Linked DNA regions of Homo sapiens: region 2 is linked to region 1. The links are contacts of gene promoters, found by promoter capture Hi-C in human tissues and cell types (Jung and others, 2019). All regions are on one chromosome and are shown on one strand. Each heading gives the region's core, a stretch centred on a gene start or on the middle of the fragment in contact. The rest is flanking DNA. Distances are from core to core; before and after follow the strand shown.

What was found. Contacts are between HindIII fragments. The study calls those that stand out against the background at their distance.
Region 2: a contact is called between the fragment with the promoter of COL6A1 here and the fragment with the promoter of KRTAP10-3 in region 1, in 1 of the 25 tissues and cell types used here (dorsolateral prefrontal cortex).

Annotation. Positions count from the first base shown.
Region 1 is chr21:44,557,216-44,560,727 of GRCh38, forward strand. KRTAP10-3 (keratin associated protein 10-3) reads right to left here and starts at 1,580. Exons shown (of 1, transcript NM_198696.3): 1 at 575-1,580. The coding sequence starts at 1,500. The coding sequence ends at 835. All of the region lies in intron 2 of TSPEAR (thrombospondin type laminin G domain and EAR repeats), which reads right to left. The HindIII fragment of the contact is 7,690 bases long and covers 1-3,512 here.
Region 2 is chr21:45,980,365-45,983,922 of GRCh38, forward strand. COL6A1 (collagen type VI alpha 1 chain) reads left to right here and starts at 1,406. Exons shown (of 35, transcript NM_001848.3): 1 at 1,406-1,583; 2 at 2,270-2,399. The coding sequence starts at 1,487. LOC105372841 (a long non-coding RNA gene) reads left to right here. Exons shown (of 3, transcript XR_937803.3): 3 at 926-1,202. RefSeq lists enhancers at 1,164-2,026, 2,027-2,887. The HindIII fragment of the contact is 42,283 bases long and covers 1-3,558 here.

The DNA of each region.
Region 1 (3,512 bases), core at 330-2,829:
AGAAAACACACCTGTCTTAGAGGCCTCAAAAATGCCCACAAATACTTTCCAAGGACAAAGGTGGTTACTCAGCTGCAAACAGTGAAGCACACAAGGAAACGACACCATGAGCGAGAACTGGTGGAAATGACAGAAAGCTGAAATGGACCCACAGAGACTTCAGGCATTGGGATGACCGTGCACAGATATTTGAAATAAGAGATCAGCTCTAAAATGTCTTCCAGGAATGAGAAATATTTATTTTATTTAATAAGAGAGGGCTGGTGAGAAGATGATGAGTGGGGGTCAGACAGGCAGAGGAAGGAGAGAGGGGGAGGAGCTGAGCCCAGGGAGAGGCCGGGCCGGGTGGGTGTGGGGGATTCACAGAGAAGCACCCCCGGGGCCTGGAGACGCTGAGGCTGGCAGGAGAACCCCACAACAGCAGACCCCGCACAGCGGGAAGTCAGGACTGCCTCCGCCCCTGGTGCTGTCAGCCTGGATGCAGCTCAAGGCCAGAGTCCCGAAGCTCCCACCCCACGCGGCACGTTGAAGTTCTTCCCACAGGGTTTGCCAGATATGCAAAAAAGACCTCTGAGAGGGCACATTGGTGACTTTATTTGTTGACAGACTGATCACTCACATGGGGCAGGACACAGTGACCACCGGCTGGCCAGCATGGAGATGAGGGTGTGGGAGAGATGCATGCCTGGAGGGAATCGGCATGAAAGCTCAGCATTGCTGGCTGGAGGTGCAGTGGCTATGGGCAGAGGAGACTCAGACAGGGCTCAGGGCTGCAAGGATTTTCGGAAGTCAGAGATGGCCCTGGAACAACTCTGGAGAAACGGGACCTGCCCGTCAGCAGCTGGACTTCTGGCCTGAGGAGAGGCCGCAGCACGCGGAAGAGAGGCGGGAGCACGTGGGGCGGCAGAGGAGGGACACGCAGGAGGCCGGGCGGCAGCAGCTGGGCTGGCAGGTGGAGGCAGGGGCACAGCAGGAGGGGATGGGCACACAGCAGGTGGACCTGCACACGGGGCGGCAGAGGAGGGACACGGAGGAGGAGGGTCTGCAGCAGGAGGTGGTGCAGCAAGCCGGCTGGCGGCTAGACTGCTGGCAGCATGAAGAGGAAGCCCCAGAGCAGACGGGCACACAGCAGATGGGCTTGCAGCAGACAGGCTTGCAGCAGACGGGCACACAGCAGACTGGCTTGCAGCAGACAGGCACGCAGCAGGCCTGCTGGCAGGGGGAGGATGTGCAGCAAGCTGGCTGGCAGCTAGACTGCTGGCAGCACGAGGGCGTGCAGGAGCTGGTGCAGCCTGACTGGCAGGGGCTGGGCTCACAGGCCGCCTGGCAGCAGGGGCTGGACACACAGCTCACTGGGGTGCAGACCAGGGTCAGGCAGGGGGCCGGGGCGCAGCAGCTGGTGGCGCAGCAGGGGGGCTCACAGCAGCTCTCTGGGCAGGCGTCCACCTGCCAGGAGTCAGAGTAAGCGCTGGAGCAGACGGACATGGTAGACGTGGCCATGCTGGGGTGGGGAGGAGGTGAGCTGGGGGAGACGTGAGTGAGTGAGTGTGGGAGTGAGTGAGGGAGTGAGTGAGTGATCGTGCCAGGCCTCTGAGTGGTCGGAACCTTTATACCCCTCTGTGTTGATTGTGCTGCCCCTGCCTGGCTTCGAGAAGCCTTCCTCTTCCTTGTTGTTGTTGTAGGCACTGTTGTGTTAGTAGTGTTGGTTCATTGTTTGTGGATGTTCTGGTTTGTGAGGCTCCTGACTGGAGTTAGGGCTTCCCTAATGTGGGCTTGTCCACAGAGATAAACTAGTAGAAATATATTGATTGCATCAAAGCACACTGCAGAAGCAGGGACAGTGGCAGTTAGGAGATATTCTGGAATTGACAGCCCTCTGCTCCATCCCAGGAGGAGTTTGCACTTAAAAAAAGACTTCTACACCTAAGGAGGGATGAGGTTAGGAGAACCTCAGTTTCTGGGCCTTGAGGAAAGGGAGAGATGTGTTCTGCTGTGGACAAGTTTGAAGATGCTCAGTTGGCCTGGCCACACGGCGAGATCCACCCTGTGGGTTGACACTGCTGGTTGTCAGTGGGAACCATGGGGCATATTTCTGCTGGGGGTGAGCCCTGGGGCAGGTGTGAGGGAATAGTGTCTTCCTGGGCAGAGATTGGCTCGCAGAGGGGAGCAGGGAGGCAGCTGCAGGCCCAGCACAGTAGGGATGGAGATGAGGGGCAAGCACCTTTGTTTCATTTCACGTTGAACTGTTATGGGGCCTTCCCCCGGTGGTGTGCACAATAGTGTTCACACCTTCTCCTCTCACATCTCGGGCAACATCACCTGCAATGGTGTCCTTGGGAGCTCCAAGGTCTCTTCCCTTATGGGCCAGAAAGTCATCAGAATGTATTAGTTCTACTGTTGGCTCCTGGACATTGTCATAGTAAATGTACAAATAAAAGGGTCTGATTGCAGAGCCTTGTCTCACAAATACCTATACACCTGTGTGTATCAGCCCATGCCTGTGCCCGGGACCATACCTGTGCGCTAGTAAGCCCCCAAAGTTCTGATCATGGATCCCTCATCTCCTCACTCTATGATCGCTATTTTCTACTAAATCTTTGAAATGGCAAAGGCAGAGGCTCTGATGATGCTCTAGGCTGCAGGGCTTTCCAAAATTAGGCCAGGGGTCCACTGAGTGCTTGGTGGGGGCCCATAGGCTGCAGGGTTTGAAGCCTCTGACCTTTGATGAGTATGGCTAAGGGCTCTGTTGGAGGACTACCTGGCAAAGTCAGACTACAGTGGAAAAATATTATTTCATAGAAATAATAGCTGGACACAGACTGGCAAATTGGATGAAGAGTCATGACCCGTCAGTGTGCTGTATTCAGGAGACCCATCTCACTTGCAAAGACACACATAGGCTCAAAATAAAGGAATGGAGGAAAATGTACCAAGCAAATGGAAAGCAACGTAAGCAGGGGTTGCAATCCTAGTCTCTGATAAAACAGACTTTAAGCCAACAAAGATCAAAAAAGACAAAGAAGGGCATTACATAATGATAAAGGGATCAATTCAATGAGAAGAGCTAATTATCCTAAATATATATGCACCAAATATAAAAGCACCCAGTTTCATAAAACAAGCTCTTAGAGACCTACAAAGAGACTTAGACTCCCACACAATAATAGTGGGAAACTTTAACACCCTGCTGTCAATATTAGACAGATCAATGTGACAGAAAATTAACAAGGATATTCAGAACTTGAACTCAGCTCTGGATCAAATGGACCTAATAGACATCTGCAGAACTCTCCACCCCAAATCAACAGAAGATACATTCTTCTCAGTGTCACATGGCACTTATTCTAAAATTGACTTTATAATTGAAAGTAAAACACTCCTCAGCAAATGCAAAAGAACTGAAATCATAACAAAGTCTACCGGACCACAGTGCAATCAAATTAGATCTCAAGATTAAGAAACTCACTCAAAACCACACAACTACATGGAAATTGAACAACCTGCTCCTGAAT
Region 2 (3,558 bases), core at 156-2,655, 1.4 Mb after region 1:
GTACGTTTTAAAATTATAAGACATTTAGGCTGGTGTTAGGCAAGTCTCAGCAGCTCCAGCTTTGGGAAAGCTCTTCTGGGACCTTCTGTGGGCCAGGGATGCATCTGGCCACATCTGGAGCCCACCCCCAGGTGATATCAGGGACAGCCCCTCTCTCCTCTCTCTGTCTCTCTTTCTGTCTCTCTGTCTCTGTCTCTCTGTCTCTGTCTCTCCGTCTCTGTCTGTCTCTCCTCTCTGTCTCTCTCTGTCTCTGTCTCTCTGTCTCTGTCTTTGTCTCTCTCTGTCTCTCCTCTCTCTGTGTCTCTGTCTCTGTCTCTCTCTCTGTCTCTCTCTGTCTGTCTCTCTGTCTCTCTCTGTCTCTGTCTCTCTCTGTCTGTCTCTGTCTCTCCTCTGTCTCTCTGTGTCTGTCTCTCTGTCTCTGTCTTTCTGTCTCTCTCTCACTGTCTCTGTCTCTCTCTGTCTCTCTGTCTCTGTGTCTCTCTGTCTCTGTCTCTCACTGTCTCTCTCTCTGTCTCTGTCTCTCTGTCTCTCTGTCTCTCTGTGTCTCTCTGTCTCTGTCTCTCTGTCTCTGTCTCTCCTCTGTCTCTCTGTGTCTCTCTCTGTCTTTCTGTCTCTCTGTCTCTCTCTGTCTCTGTCTCTCTCTCTGTCTCTGTCTCTCCTCTGTCTGTGTCTCTGTCTGTCTCTCTGTCTCTGTCTCTCTGTCTCTCTCTCACTGTCTCTCTCTGTCTCTCTGTCTCTGTCTCTCTGTCTCCACACACAGCATATATAACAACTATATTGTGAGCAACTTTGTCTTCCCACGGTACAAACTGAAATATCTTTGGCAAATACGTATCCGACTATACTGTGAAGAAATATTGACGTGAAAAAAGAACGCGGAGATCTGATAAAGCAACAATTCAGCTCACGGCGAGGTCCTCTGCAGGAGGCGGTTGGTGGGAAGAGGCGAGTGAGCCTGCCCGTGCGTCCCGCATGGAGACGTCTGGATTGGAAACTACCGAAAGATGTTTCAAGGAACTCTCCCTGGGTGACACGCTGGTTTTCAGACGTTTGATTCAGCTGCTGCAGTTTCCTCCTCCCTGACACGGGAACTGAACTGCAGGCCGCGGCGAGCCAGCCAGGGAAACCGCCTTCTCCCTGGGCTCGGAGCTGCTGCCGGTTCTGGAGGGAGAGACCCCAGCAAGGAGGTGGTGACTCATGGGCCGCTCCTCCCCGCCCCGCCCCGCCCCTCCCCTCCCGCCCCGCCCCTCCCCTCCCGCCCCTCCCCTCTCCTCCCGCCCCTCCCCTCCCCTCCCCTCTCCTCCCGCCCCGCCCCTCCCCTCCCCTCCCGCCCCTCCCCTCCCCTCCCGCCCCTCTCGCCCCGCCCCTCCCCTCCTTGCCCTCCGCTCTCACTCTGGCTGGGAGCAGAAGGCAGCCTCGGTCTCTGGGCGGCGGCGGCGGCCCACTCTGCCCTGGCCGCGCTGTGTGGTGACCGCAGGCCCCAGACATGAGGGCGGCCCGTGCTCTGCTGCCCCTGCTGCTGCAGGCCTGCTGGACAGCCGCGCAGGATGAGCCGGAGACCCCGAGGGCCGTGGCCTTCCAGGGTGAGTGGTGGCTTGGGGTGCAGGCTCCAGACCCCCCGCTCTTTGCTGCCGGCCAGGGCCAGATGCGCGGGGTCCCCTCCCACGCGTGGAACTGCAGACTGGGGGCCTGGAGCCCCTGAACCCCACTCCCCGCTCGGGGCGGCTGCAGCGCCCAGCTCTGCCCCACCGGGCCTTGGCCGGGGCCCCTAGAGGCTCAGCATTCAGCATTCTCAGCGGGGCCGGACCGCAGGCAGCTCGGGAGGGGCTCCCTGGCGAGGGGGAGCTGGTGCGGGGCTGTCTCGGCGCCCCGTGAATCCGTTTGACCCCTCACCTGGCAGTGAGTCCAGACGCACGGCCCCCCCGACCCCCGTTCTAGAAGAAGTCGTGCGCTGCTGGTTCTGAATCCAGCGAGAAACCTTCCCGTGAGGTCTCACTTGTCCGGTCCCGTGCCGGGGACGCCCTGCCCTTCGGGGGAGGTTGTGAAGGTTTCTGACTCCCCTCGAGGCACAGGAGCGGTTTGGGGTCTCTCACTCCACCCCCTCCCCACCGTCCCCACCGAGGGACGTCCTGCTGCCTTTTCCCGGGAGAGCCTCTCCGGGCCCGGGGCTCTGTGCTGCAGGCGCTGGGCTGGCCGGGAGGGCAGGCCCAGCAGAGACTCGGGGAATGGGGCGAGAGCTTGAAGGCCCCTCTCCTCCATCTTCGGCCAGACTGCCCCGTGGACCTGTTCTTTGTGCTGGACACCTCTGAGAGCGTGGCCCTGAGGCTGAAGCCCTACGGGGCCCTCGTGGACAAAGTCAAGTCCTTCACCAAGCGCTTCATCGACAACCTGAGGGACAGGTAGGAGGGACGCCCCGTGACCTTCCTCCTGTGCTTCTGGGCCTCTTGGAGGGAGGGGTGGGGGCCCAGGGGAACACGGGTGCGACGGCCTCAACCTCCTAAGGTTGGGCGAGCGTTGCCCTGACCGGGGCCCCTCCCGGCGCCCTCCAGAGTGAGGCCGGGGCCCTTTCCGGCGCCCTCCAGAGTGAGCTGGTCTGAGCCTCTCCCAGCGCCTTCCAGAGTGAGCTGGTTTGAGACCCTGCTCGCGGGGGTGGCACCTGTTCAGCAGGGCCGAGGTGACAGTGAGGCTGAGATGTAGGGAAGAGAGGCTCCCGCAGGCTGACCGAGAGGGCTCAGCGCACTGGCCCAGACACGCAGTCCTGCCTGGTGCGCGGGAGCCCCTCACTAACCACCTGGACCCTGGTTTGTTCCGTGGGCAGTGAGAGCCTCTACCTGGGTCCTGGATCCCACGTTCTGAAGGTCCCCGACTCGGGAGCCAGGAGGGGTGTCGCTCTGCAGCCCCAGGGCCCCCAGGCTTGGTTCTGGGCTTGGGACACGGCACCCTCTGCTCCACGTTCCTCCATCTGTGCGTGTGGCTGAGGACAGACCGGGGGGAGAGGGGAGTCGGTCCTGTGGGTGCACAGGGCCGCTGAGGGGGGGGCATGTAGAACGGGGCTCCCCCACTGAGACGGGTCCTGGCAGTGGGGACACAGCTTAGCCGGCGTAGGAACCCCCGTCCTCCTTGACCCTGCTGACTGGCCGCTGGGCCGGAGCCTCCCGCCACCAGAAGGGGCACAGTCAGAGGCTGCCGGTAACAGCAGGGTGGACCTTCCAGCCCACACCGTGCCCAGCAGGAGCCATTGGTACCAGGAACCCTGAGCTTAGTGGACATGGCCAGGCCCGTGCGGCAGTGTTTGGGGGGGGGTCTGGCTGTGGATGGCACCGGGGAGGGGCGGCCGCGTGGCCCAGCGTCCCCCGAGTCGCCCTTGTTGCCTTTACTCAGTCTCCCCATGACTCAGTTTCCCACCTGTGAAATGGGGCGGAGTCATCCCCATGTCGCTGCCACTGGATTCCTGCAGGCGCCGTGGTCACTCTGCTGAATGGATGGGAGGGTGGGTGGGGCAGAGGTGGGCCCACCCCAGGCTGGGGCAGAGCAGACCCCTGAGAGCCTCAGGCTCAG